2 separate regions of the Homo sapiens genome follow, and region 2 is linked to region 1. Evidence: promoter capture Hi-C in 16 types of primary human blood cells and fetal thymus (Javierre and others, 2016). All regions are on one chromosome and are shown on one strand. The core of a region is centred on a gene start or on the middle of the fragment in contact, and the rest is flanking DNA. Distances in the headings are between cores, read along the strand shown. Region 1 holds the start of CFAP58-DT (CFAP58 divergent transcript). Region 2 overlaps SLK (STE20 like kinase).

Region 1 (6,157 bases), core at 941-3,440:
ATAAAGGCCCGTGGATAGACAAAGCAATCTTAACACAGAAGAATTTGGAATGGGGAACTTGCCCTTCAAGCATGATGACTAACTAAAAACCCACAGTGACAAAACCTTGTGGTACTGACACATGAACAAACCAGAGAGCTCAGAACATACTCATGTCTATTTGGAAACTTCCCCAAACCAATTTGGAAAGAATGGATTGTTTGACATGGGTTGTTGGAAAATTTGCTCACCCCATGGAGAAAAATATAGTTAGATCCCTATCTCACACCATATGGGAAGGAGAACTCCAGATGGATTAGATAACTGAATGTAAAAAAGTAAAACTATGAAGCTAATGGATAGAAAAAAATGATGGGAGAATACCTTTATGACCGTGGGGTTAAGGAGGTCTAAATAATACCAAAAAACTATATAAAAAATATAGGGAAAAAAAGAGCTAAAGAGCCACAGTATCAAAGTTAAGGACTATTGTTCCCTTAAAGACATAAAGGCAGAGTTTCTAGTCTTCTAAAGCAGATTGATGTCCAGGCTTCTCAAAGATATCTGTAAATCAAAAGAAAAAGAAAAAAGATCAATAGAAAAATAGACACAGACACTGAAAAGGCAGTTCACAGAAGGGAATCTCAAGTAGCCTATGAATGTATAAAGAAATGGTCAAAAAATTCACTAGTAGTTAGAGAAGTGAAAATGAAAGCAAAAAATGAGCTTACACTACTTTCATCATATTGACAGAAATTAGAAAATTAGCTAATTAGATGAGTCAATATTTGCAAAGCACTTAGAATAGTATCTGGTATTTACTAAACACTTTATGAGTGTTTAATAAAAAAGACCTATCACCTTCTGGAAGGGATGGATGGAAGTGTTGGATGGAAACCCCACACTGGAGTGCAGCGTAGGGCAGTAACTCTGGTACACAATCTTAAAGTGCTTGGTAAGTACCCAGGGCTTGTACTAGGCTACTGGGCATCGTTGTGCTCTTGGAAAACTGTTCATCTGGCCAGATGAGTTTGAAAATATCACACCCTCTAGATAGTTACAGCCTTCTAGGTTCATGACTTGGCTGGCGTACAGAGATTTTGTGAGAATAAAAAGTGCACACCTTTCTCCAGTAGGGCACATGGCACGGGAAAGAGAGTAGAGACAGTTTTTCAGCCTCCATTGCCCCATGGCTGGATGTGTTTGTGCAGGACGCAGCTGCATAAGCAAATGTCCCTGTGCATCCCTATAACTTTAACAATCTTACTCCTTGGCATATATTTCAGAGGAATTTGCACAGAGGTCCTTAAGGGACCACGGACAAAGACGATCATGGCTGTATTACTTGATGTATTGGAGAATTAGAGGCGGCCTTGTTACCTAACACCTGGGGAATGGAAGTGAAGTGTGGTAGATGCCCCTTATGAAACGCTGTGCAGTACTCAGAAGCAATGAACTATATGCTTGCCAATCGCAACGAGGACAGATCCTTAAAAAGAATGTTGAGTGAAAAAAGTAGAAAATAAGATAATCTCCAAAGTCCAGTAGCATTATTTAAACATTTTTAAAAAATACACTGATAAAAATTTTGTACATTTCCCAAAAATACATATGGAAGCACAGCAGCATGAATGCCTATGGGGTTGAGGATAGGGGTTGGGAGTAGGGATGGGGATAAAGGGGGAAAATAAAACCAGAGAGGAGTCTTACACATTTCATGAACCAAGGAGTATAATTATTTCAACTATTTGTACCTGAAGTCCAGAAAGAGTGGAGGCAGAAGGGGGAGAAGAGGGCGAAGAAACGTTTTTGGGAGAGGGGTCCCAGAAGAGAGATTTTCGCGATGTGGCGCTACATACGTTTTTCCAGGATGCCTTAAGCTCTGCACCCTATTTTTCTCATCACTAATATTAGATTAAACCCTTTGAAGACAGCGTCTGTGGTTTCTCTACTTCAGCTTTCCCTCCGTGTCTTGCACACAGTAGCTGTTTTACAAGGGTTGAACTGACTGAAGTGAGATTATTCCTCGTTGTCTCGGAAGGCAGAGTGTAGCCGCCAGTCCTTCCCTCATCCGGAACCTTCTGGTCCACATTTCCTTCCAAGCGTTAGTCCTCGGCTCTCCATGCTTGGCTCCCTAGTGTCACACACCGTCCTTTCTGGGTGGCCTCTTCCAATTCGCCCTCTTCTTTCTCCTGGGTGTCTCCATCTGCCCACACCGTGGGACTCCTCCCAGCCTCTCAGGGGCACCGCCCCCTCACTTCCTTGGCTCCGCCCCATTGGGATATATTTGCATATTTCTCTGAGGAACCCTGCCCAGGTGCCAGCCGCAGAAGCTCCTCCCCTTTCGAATTCCCGCTAGCGCCCCTAGAGGGCGTGTCCGTTGCCAGGCGACGGGCCGACGCGCCGAGCGCGGGTTTCCGCTCGGGGCGGGCGATAGAGACAGCGCGTCGCGCCTTTAGCTTCTTTCCCAGACTCCGGCCCAGCTCCTGCGATCTCCACAGCAGCCTCTGAGGCCGCCCCCAGAGAGCATCAGGATGGCTGAGGTCAGGAGTCAGCGCCCCTCTGTCGCCTTTCCCTTGACCCCTCCCCATTGTCCCTCTCCTACTGACGATTGTCACAAACGGTGATTCCAATATTTCCCCCCATCAACATCTTATTCCCCTGCACCCTCACTCACTCCCGCGCCTTTCTCCGTTGGCTCTGGCCTCTTTACCTCCTGTTTCTCCTTCATTTGTGTGGACACCCCACTATCCCCACTGTGGCATCGGCGCTATGCTAAGTGCGGTAGAAAATTAATGAATTCTGAAATCCACACGTGACATGCACCCAGCCCTAGATTTTTAGTCATGGAGTGATACCATAAGAGAGGCTCACACAGAAATATTGGAGATGTCTTATCTCACAGGGGAAACCGGGAAGAAAGCTTCACAGATGCCTGCTGTCATCCCAATCAATGGCCCTTGTCCACCTGTCACACCCTGATTTCCTAACATGTGATCACCTGCTGTCACACAGCTTCATTAAGGCTCTTCTGCCCATCACCTCTGCCCCGTGTGTTCATTGACTCCTGTGTTAACATCTCGTATCACCCCACCACTCCCCCATATTACAGTACACCCCATTTTCAGCCTCTCCAATGAGGGGTTATTTCTGCAACCCTTCAGTGACTCCCTGCCTGCCCCTTAGCCCCCTCACGTATAACCTCAAGAGCCTCGGGTCCCTGTCATTACTTGCCATTCACAGTCCCCATCCACTATGGCCCTACCCAAATCCTTCATGGCCCCATCAGAGCCCTTCCCCCATCACCCATCCCACGGTCTGTTCCAGCCAGGACCAGCTACATGATTTGCAAGGCCTGATGCAAAGTGAAAACACAAAGTCTCTTCAAAAATTACAAATAATTTTAAGACAGAACAGCAGAGCATTCAACCAAGAATGGGGCCTTTCTGAGCAAGGGGCCCTGTGCAACTGACCAGTTTTCACTCCCATGAAGCCAGCCCAAGCCCCATCATCTTTCAGCACCATCGTGCTCCACCCCCTCCCCACCCCATTCTAGTTACTCTCTTGCTTCCTCTGCACCATTCACATCCCCTCATCATTGCTTTTCCTCCATCTCCAGTCTAGCTTTATAAATTCCGTCTTCCCGTGGTCAACACCTCCTTCCTTTCCTTATCATACGATCTCTTTCATATCATCCATCTTCCTCACGCCTGGGCTCCATCACTCACATCTCTCTCTGACATCCATGCTGCTGTGGCCACTTCACTTCTCCCCATTACCCATAGTCATTTGTATCTCTTTCTTCCCATTTCCTTTCTTGTTCCTTCTAGTTCTTTATTGTCCCATTATTGCTTTTGAGTGTTTTCTCCTCTTTTCTCCCACCAGTCATCTTTGTTTATTTCATTCTTCATTCCCCATAGGGAAGCCCCAGCCTCCCAGAGGCACCAGCCCCTCATTTCCTTGGCTCTGCCCTATTCAGGATATATTTGCATATTTCTGTGAGGAACCCTGCCCAGGTGCCGGCCTCAGAAGCTGCTCCACTATTATGGATTAGTTATTTCCATTTCCCTCTTTCTGTTACTCCTCTCGTTTCTTCCTTTCTTCTACTTTTCTTCTTACTTGACCTCAGCCAACTTTCTCGATTCTGCTTTCACAATTCTCTATTTCCCCTCTGGCCTCATCTTATATTGCAGTTCTCTTTTCCTTTTCCCTTTTCCTTCTCCCCACTAATTGATATTCCCAGAACTTAGGACAGGACAGTGCCTGGCACATAGCAAACAATCAGTGAATAGGTGAAGAATAAAGAAATGCCACAGTTCCTTTCTGATCAGTTCACGTTGATTTCATCCTTCTGAAACAGATACCATTATATGTTATAACAGTGGAAATATCAACTGTTTATTGGCCAAAGCTAAGAGATTATTTTTCCTTTGCTTTTAATGACAATAGGAACAAATCTCTTTTGTTCCTAAAAGTTTCTTTAAAACTTTTCCTTCTTTGGTATTTTTCCATTCCTGTGCTAAGTGCCAGGTAAACAGGTAAAACTTGGACTGCTAACAAATCATTAGGCTGTTGATCAAGTGTTGACGTTAATACCATTTACAGGGATGGAACCAAGAACAGTGCAGTGACAAATTTTTGTGTGTGCTTATGTTTAGCATCAACAAGGGAGAAGAACAGAACAGCAGCAACACCGTATTTCCTTAATATGGTTTTTCCTCCTTTGTGGAATTACTACATTGTGGTCTTTGCAATAATCTGCTTTTAGTCAGGAAGAAAAACCTATGTGAATTTAAAATTAGTACTAAAGTTGTTATACAAAATGCTATAGATATGCTTGTGACTCTACATTTATTTTAATTTACAAAGACTGTTTTGCTTGCATGTCATCGTTAGAGATTTAATTAATAGTACAAGTGTTTTCGAAAACCAAGAATACGTAGACTTTTTCCATATTGGGCAAGACGGGCTTGTCAAAACAGAAGGTAAACTAGACTCCTTAAAATCTTCAGGGTGAATTGAAATTTTACTTTATTATTGGGACTACAGATTGTTTCAGTTGGTTTCTTTTAGCAAGAGAGTGTTGATGCCAAGGCCCTTTGTAGAGTAGAATATTAAAACATAATGTTGCAAACGTAAGTAAGGCCTTGCAAGCCTTATGAGTCCTTTGCTCAAAAGTCTTGAGTGGTTCCCTGTGGCCTGCAGAATAATGCAATCCGTACTCCTTTGAATGTAATTCAGTGTCTTCACTGTGTGTCCCTCACTCCCTAGCTTCCTTCTGGGCCTGCTCAAATGCCAATTTTTTTCTGAGATTTTTTTTTTTATTCTTGCTGCTGGGAATAATTCTCTTTCTGTGGGTTCATAGAGAACTTTGAATACATTTTATGATAGGGATCAAATTCTATGCTTTCATTAACTGCATTCATATCCCACCAGCAATTAAGTATAAATTCCCTGTGGATAAGCTGTTTATTACTCATCTTGTGGATAAGCTGTTTATTCCCAATCCATCATAGAATTTATGTATGGCAGATGTTCAATAAATACTTGCTCAATGAATGAATAAATATATTAACCATACCCATTCTTCTTCATTATTATGTTGTAGCTAACAAGAAGTAGGTGGATTTGTTTGCTAGAGCAGCCATAACAAAGCACCACAAACTGGGTGGCTTACTCCAGTCTGAGCTCATCTTAACTTATTAAATGACTCTGTTCCAAATAAGGTCAGATTAGCAGGGTTAGGACTTCAAAATACCTTTTTGGGGGACACAATTCAACCCCTAAAAGTAGAGAAATAAGAATCCCGATATAACTCACTCTTAGGTTCTCATCTAAGTAATAGCCAGACTTGCTTGAATTATATCTATATGTCTGGGCTTATATTTTGAAATAATTTGTTGCCCATCTAACCATGGAAAGCAAATGTGGAAAAGTCCCATGAGTATTGCACAGGGGCATTTTAGGACACTGTGGGGCATGACCTAGCCTACATTTCTAAGGAATAAAAATGATGGAATCTCTTTTGGGAGATAAGTGCATATTTCAGGTGAGTTTCACTGTATATGTGATTTCATGATATCTATGCCAAGATCTTCCTATGTCTGGCCTCAACACACCGTGGCCACCCCCCGCTGCCCTTTGCAGTCTTAGGGGCAATAAGAAGCAGGGCCCAGTG
Region 2 (6,157 bases), core at 2,728-5,227, 370 kb before region 1:
TTGAATCATCCCTCCTTCCATCCCTTCCTCCTTTCTTGGAAAGTGTGAGCAAAGTTAATAAATTTCATTTCTCTTTGTATGTTGTCATTTTAGCATCTCAATTTTAAAGAAATGTACTGGAAATCAAGATATTTTATTAATTTTAATTTTAATATTTTTTTGAGACAGGGTCTCACTCTGTCGCCCAGGCAGGAGTGCAGTGCCGCGATCTTGGCTCACTGCAACCTCCGCTTCCCACGTTCAAGTGATTCTCATGCCTCAGCCTCTGGAGTAGCTGGGATTACAGGCGCCCGCCACCACACCCAGCTAATTTTTGTATTTTTTAGTAGAGATGGGGTTTCGCCTTGTTGGCCAGGCTGGTCCCCAACTCCTGGGCTTAAGCTATCCGCCTGCCTTGGCCTCCCAAAGTGCTGGGATTATAGGCGTGAGCCACCGTATCCAGCCAAGATATTTTATTTTTGCTTGTAAAGCATGTTTTATTTCCAGTTGGTATGTTGTATGGCATGAGCTTTATAAAGTCTCTTAAAATTTTAAAGATCTGTGATATGGCTTATTCACATTTAAAGATAAAGTAATATTACATAATTTATTTCAGAGTATCCTGCCAAAGTTTTATAAAGAATGGCCAAGAAACTAGCATACCATATCTGATTTTGGATCTTTAAATTAACCTTGATAGAATCTTTTTTCTGGCCTGCTTTTTTTTGGTCTGTGCCCTGATGGATGTGAAGTAATATCGTCCCTGATTACTAATGAGGTTGAGCTCATTTTCATATGTTTATTGGCCATTTGGATTTCCTGTTCTCTGAAGTGATTGTTAAAGTCTTTTGGGCTCTCTTTCTTTTTCTTATTGATTTATGGGGGTCATTATACATTTTGGATACTTATCCTTTGTCCGTTATATATGAGGCACATATTTTCTTTTGCATTGTGGTTTATCTTTTCACTCTCTTTAGGATTTTCTTTTTTTGTGTAGACATTTTAAGTTTTAATATAGTCCAATTTATTAACTTTTCCCTACATGGCTAATGTTTTTGTCTTAAGAAATTCTTTCCTAACCAAGATGGTGAAGATATCCTGCTGTGTTATCTTTGTAAAGTTTTATGGTATTGCCTTCTACATTAGGTGTGTAATTAAACTGGTGTTGATTTTTGCTTATAGAGTGAGGTAAGGACCGAATTTTATTTTTTCTATGTAGATACCCAGTTGTCCCAGCACCATGTACTTTAAAGACCGTCCTTTTCTTACTGCTTTGCAATGCTTCCATCATATAATGGATGTCCGTACGCACATAGTATATTTCCATGACATTCTCTTAGGTTAAATTTTTAGGAGAATTGTTAGAGCAAAACAAATGATTATTTATTAATGCTTATTTTGAAATTACAAAATTTGTGCACATTTATTTTTCAATTTTTTAATTGTAGTAAAATACACATAAAATTTACTGTCTTGACTATTTTTTATATCCTGTGAAGATTCACCATCGTCATGATTTTTAAATGTCTAGTTCAGTGGTATTAAATACATTCGTAATGTGCAACTGTCACCACTGTCTGTCCATCATGCCTCTTATCTTTTAAAATGAAACTCTACCGTGTTAAACAGTAACTTCCTATTTCTTCCTTCCTCCTGCCCTAGGCAACTGTTCTTCTACTTTTTGATACCATGATTTTGACTATCCTAAGTACCTCATTAAATGGAATCATACAGTATTTATCATTTTGTGACTTAGTTCCTTTAGCGTAATGAGCCTTAAGGTTCATCCATGTCATAGCATATGTTAGAATTTCCTTCCTTTTTAAGGCTGAATAATATTTGTGGTATGTATATACACATTTTTCTTATCCACTCATCTATTGATGTCACTTGGATTGCTTGCATGTTTTAGCTGTTGTGTATTTAGCTACGAACGTGGGTGTACAAGTATCTCTTTGAGACCCTGCTTTCAGTTTTTTAGGGTATATACCCAGGAGTGGGATTCCTGGATCTTGTAGGAATCTATTTTTAATTTTTTGGGGGAACTGCCATATTGTTTTCTGTAGCTGTACCAATTTTACATTTCCATCGATTTGTGCACAAGAGTTCTAATTTCTCCACATCTTTACCTATACTTGTTCTTTTCATTCTTTTTTAAAGTAATAGTCATCCTAGTGGGTGTAAGGTGGTACTTATATAGTTTTGACTTATATATCTCTAATATTAGTGACGTTGAGCATCTTTTCATGTGCTTATTGGCCATTTGTATATCTTCCTGGGAGAAATACCTGTTCGGCTCCTTTGCCTATTTTTGAATTGGGCTAGTTGTGGGTTTTTTTTGTTGTTGTTGTTGTTGTTGTTGAGTTTTAGGAGTTGTCTGTATATTCTGGATATTAATCCTCATCAGATACATGATTTGTAAATATTTTCTGTCACTTTATAGGTTGCCATTTTACTGTAATATTGTCTTTTAAAATGTATAACATTTTACAATTTTCATCAAGTCCAGTTCCGTGTTTTCTTTTGTTGCCTGTGCTTTAGTGTCATATCTCAGAATTCATTGTCAAGTCCAGTATCATAAAGCTTTTGCCTCATGCTGTCTTCTGAGAGTTTTATAGTTTTAGGTCTTACATTTAGGTTTTTCTTTGGTCCATTTTGAGTTAATTTTTGTTTATGGTGTTAGGTAAGGGTCCAACTTCACTGTTTCACATGTGGATATTCAGATTTCCCAGTACCATTTTTTGAAAAGACTGTCCTTTTCTCATTGACTGGTCTTGGAACCCTTGCCAAAAATCATTAGACCATATATATGCCAGTTTTTTTTTTTCTGGTCTCTATTCCATTGGTTTATATTTCAGGACTGCACTGTTTTGATTACTGTAGCTTCGTAGTAAGTTTGAAATCAGGAAGTGTGAGTCTTCAAGCTTTGTTCTTTTTCAAGATTATTTTGGCTATTCAGGGTCCATTGAGATTCCATGTGAATTTTGGGATAGGGTTTTCTATTACTGCAAAAAATGTCATTGAGATTTTGATAGGGATTGCATTGAATCTGTAGATTGCTTTGGGTAGTATTGACATTTTAACAATATTAGGCCTCCAATATATGAACATGGGATGTGTTTTTATTTATGTCTTTGATTTCTTCCAGCATTGATTTTTTAGTTTTCATTGTACAAGTCTTTCATCTCCTTGGTTAAGTTAATTCCCAAGTGTTTTATTCTCTTTGATGCTATCGTAAATGGGATTGTTTTCCTTACTATTTAAAAGTCTTTATTTTTCTTGAATTAATTTCCAGACGTGGTACATTTTTTGTCTTATTTTAAAATATATTTTTGAAATTGTCTTTTTGTGTTCTGTTTTTCATCTTTTCCAACTATGCAATCTATGCACATTTCCTCAGCTTCTTTATTACACAGTTGTGTTTGTTTCTGCATATTCATGCTGCTCAGAGTCAATAAGTCCTTGCAATAAGCAGGAAAACTGTGTGATCTGAGAATTGGTAAAACATTTTGGAAACTGCAGACTTAGCCAAATTTAACTTATTACTGACACCATTTTGTTGCTATATTTTGACTGACCAGTGACTAAATTTTGAATACCTAACCAGAACAATATAAATAAAATAGAGTTTGGGAATGTGAAGAAAATATAAGGAGAATATAAAGTATATTTCTTTCTCTTTTGCAGATTTCAGGAAATGACATAATCCTTGGAATTTCTGTAATATTTTACAGAAATTACAGAAAGAATATGTACAGTCGATCCTCATTATTTGCAGATTTTGTATTTGTGAATTTGCCTACTTGTTAAAGTTTACTTGTAGTCCTAAAATCTATACTTGCGGCACTTACTTGGTTATTTGTGTGTATGCGCAAAGCTGCAAAAAAATTTGACTCCTCTAGCAAGCACATTCCCAGCTAAACTTGAACAAGGTGACACTGCCTTGATTTCACCTCTCATGAAGAGATGACCAGAGGACGGAGACAGCAGAGGGCAGTGTAGTGAAGTGCAAGAAGGTCTGGCTGTGGGGGCCAGTTGGATAGGGTTTGAATCCCAAGTCTGACATCTGTTTTTGGGATGGCCTTCCGCAAGTCACTTAACACTTATACACCTCATTTCTCTTTTGTAAAATAAAGAAAGGAGAATCTCCCTGGATGAATTGTTTTCAGGATTTAAGAATATAATAATCTATGTGAGGGGTGTGTGTATGTGCATGGTTTTCCCTATGAACAATGTTTCAGTAGTCGCTAATTCAGTGCTTGCAGTGATTTTATAAAACATAACTACCACAAATAATGAGAATTAACTCTGTGTGTTTGCTAAATGATGATGAATGATTTTATTCTTTTTTAATATTGATACTTGTTCCTACCAAAATCTTAGCAGGACTGAAAAGATCACCATAATTTGCATGTAATTTAAAACAGATAACAGTATGAACAGTCTAAAAGTATATGCTTCCTTCAGTGCGGTTTCCTCTCTCTTCACTTAATAGCTTTTTGGAACTTTGGATATTTATTACCCAAACGTTTACTCTACTCTGTACCTTAGCTCTCCCATCTGTGTTGCTCATAGGTTTTGAAGGATTATGCCAGTTCTTAATCTCAGTTCCAAATACGCCCTTCTATGCTTTGTGATGCTGGTTCAAAGACTGCAGATCACATTTCTGCCTTGCTAGCAGCTCATTTCTGTTTCAAAAGTATAGGGCACTAGAGGGAGGCTGCAAGGAGAAGGAGGAAGAAATGACTTACACCTTTGTCTTGTTTCCTGTGAACTTCCTGTCTGCTTGTTACTTTGACCATCACCCTTGTAGAGGTTTTTTTTTTTTTTGCTCCAGCATCAGCAGTTTCTTTCTGTAGCAGCTGTTGAATACAGTTTGTAGTTTTTCCAACACTCACAGAACTAACCTCATCATAACCCTTCATAACACCAGCACCAGTTGGCTGGTACCCTGTTCCTCAAAAGTTTGGGTCGCAGTCTCACAGGACCCCTCTTCAGAGACAACAGCACCAGCTGAGCAGCACTCTGTCCTCAGAGGTCCGTCTGAGTTTCAGCTCTGTGGAACCCTTCCTCCAAGCTTCTGAATTTTAATAATTCCAATCTTTTCCCTTTGTTCCCATAGTCCTAGGGGTGGTAGCTTTTGCCTGTAGTTGTTACCTCCCTGATCCTTTGTATTATTTTTTCAGTTGGCAACAGAGTTAGTCATTGTTTTTATTAAATTTCTCTATTAAAATAATCAATGTGATTTTCCTCCTGTCTGGACCCTAACTGATACAAGGATTAAATAAGTTACTAAATGGAAAGTGCAGAGAACAGTGCCTCTTCTAATAGCACGATGGATATTACTATATACGATAACATACTTGAAATAATTTGAGATTTTTCTTACTGATTTCTTTGCAAAATACTAATATTTCCAATTTATATAGGTAAAAACATTAAAATAATCATTGAATTTTATTGATATTAATATGCTCAAATATCACCTCGGTTAGACCTAACTTAACTACCCTATTTAAGTTGTAAACTCTGGCCTGTGTGCTCTCATACCCCATTTCCTCATCTTATTTTATGTTTTTTGAGACAGAGTCTCAGTCTGTCAACCATGCTGGAGCGCAATGGTGCAATCTTGGCTCACTGCAACCTCTCCCTCCTGGGTTCAAGTGATTCTTGTGCCTGAGCCTCCTGAGTAGCTGGGATTACAGGCGTGCACCACCACACCGTGCTAATTTTTGTATTTTTTGGTAGAGACAGTATTTCGCCATTTGTCCATGCTGGTCTCGAACTCTTGGGCCCAAGTGATCTGCCCACCTCGTCCTTCCAAAGTGCTGGGATTCCAGGCATGAGCCACCGCGCTCAGCCTTCTCATCTTTCTTATTAGTTTACTTTTTCCCACAGTACTAATTGCTAATATACTGATTTATTTGTTGACTGTCCACTCCCCAAAATTGTAAGTACCCCAGCACAGAGAGATTTTGCATATTTGCACATTGTCAGCATCTAGAACAGTAACCTAACATATAGAAGGCACTCAGTAAGTATTTGTTGGAAGAATGAATGGATTTCAGCAGATCAACTCTTTTGGTCAAGATTTGACCAAGATTTTTAATAGATTTTTATGCAGTAGTTCCCCCTTATCCGAGGTTTCACTTTCCATGGTTTTATTTACCTGCAGTCT

The links. The method cuts DNA at HindIII sites, captures the fragments that hold promoters and counts their contacts. A CHiCAGO score of 5 or more calls a contact.
Region 2: a fragment that was not itself captured here is called in contact with the fragment with the promoter of CFAP58-DT in region 1 in 1 of 17 cell types (neutrophils); the score reaches 5.1 in neutrophils.

The regions. Positions count from the first base shown.
Region 1 is chr10:104,351,385-104,357,541 of GRCh38, forward strand. CFAP58-DT (CFAP58 divergent transcript) reads right to left here and starts at 2,191. Exons shown (of 2, transcript NR_108036.1): 1 at 1,734-2,191; 2 at 1-543. CFAP58 (cilia and flagella associated protein 58) reads left to right here and starts at 2,449. Exons shown (of 18, transcript NM_001008723.2): 1 at 2,449-2,522. The coding sequence starts at 2,514. RefSeq lists enhancers at 662-711, 732-841, 2,119-2,178. The HindIII fragment of the contact is 7,343 bases long and covers 1-2,900 here.
Region 2 is chr10:103,978,873-103,985,029 of GRCh38, forward strand. The region is part of intron 1 of SLK (STE20 like kinase); the gene reads left to right. Among named protein-coding and RNA genes, the nearest start is that of SLK, 15 kb to the left of the region's middle. The HindIII fragment of the contact is 2,153 bases long and covers 2,902-5,054 here.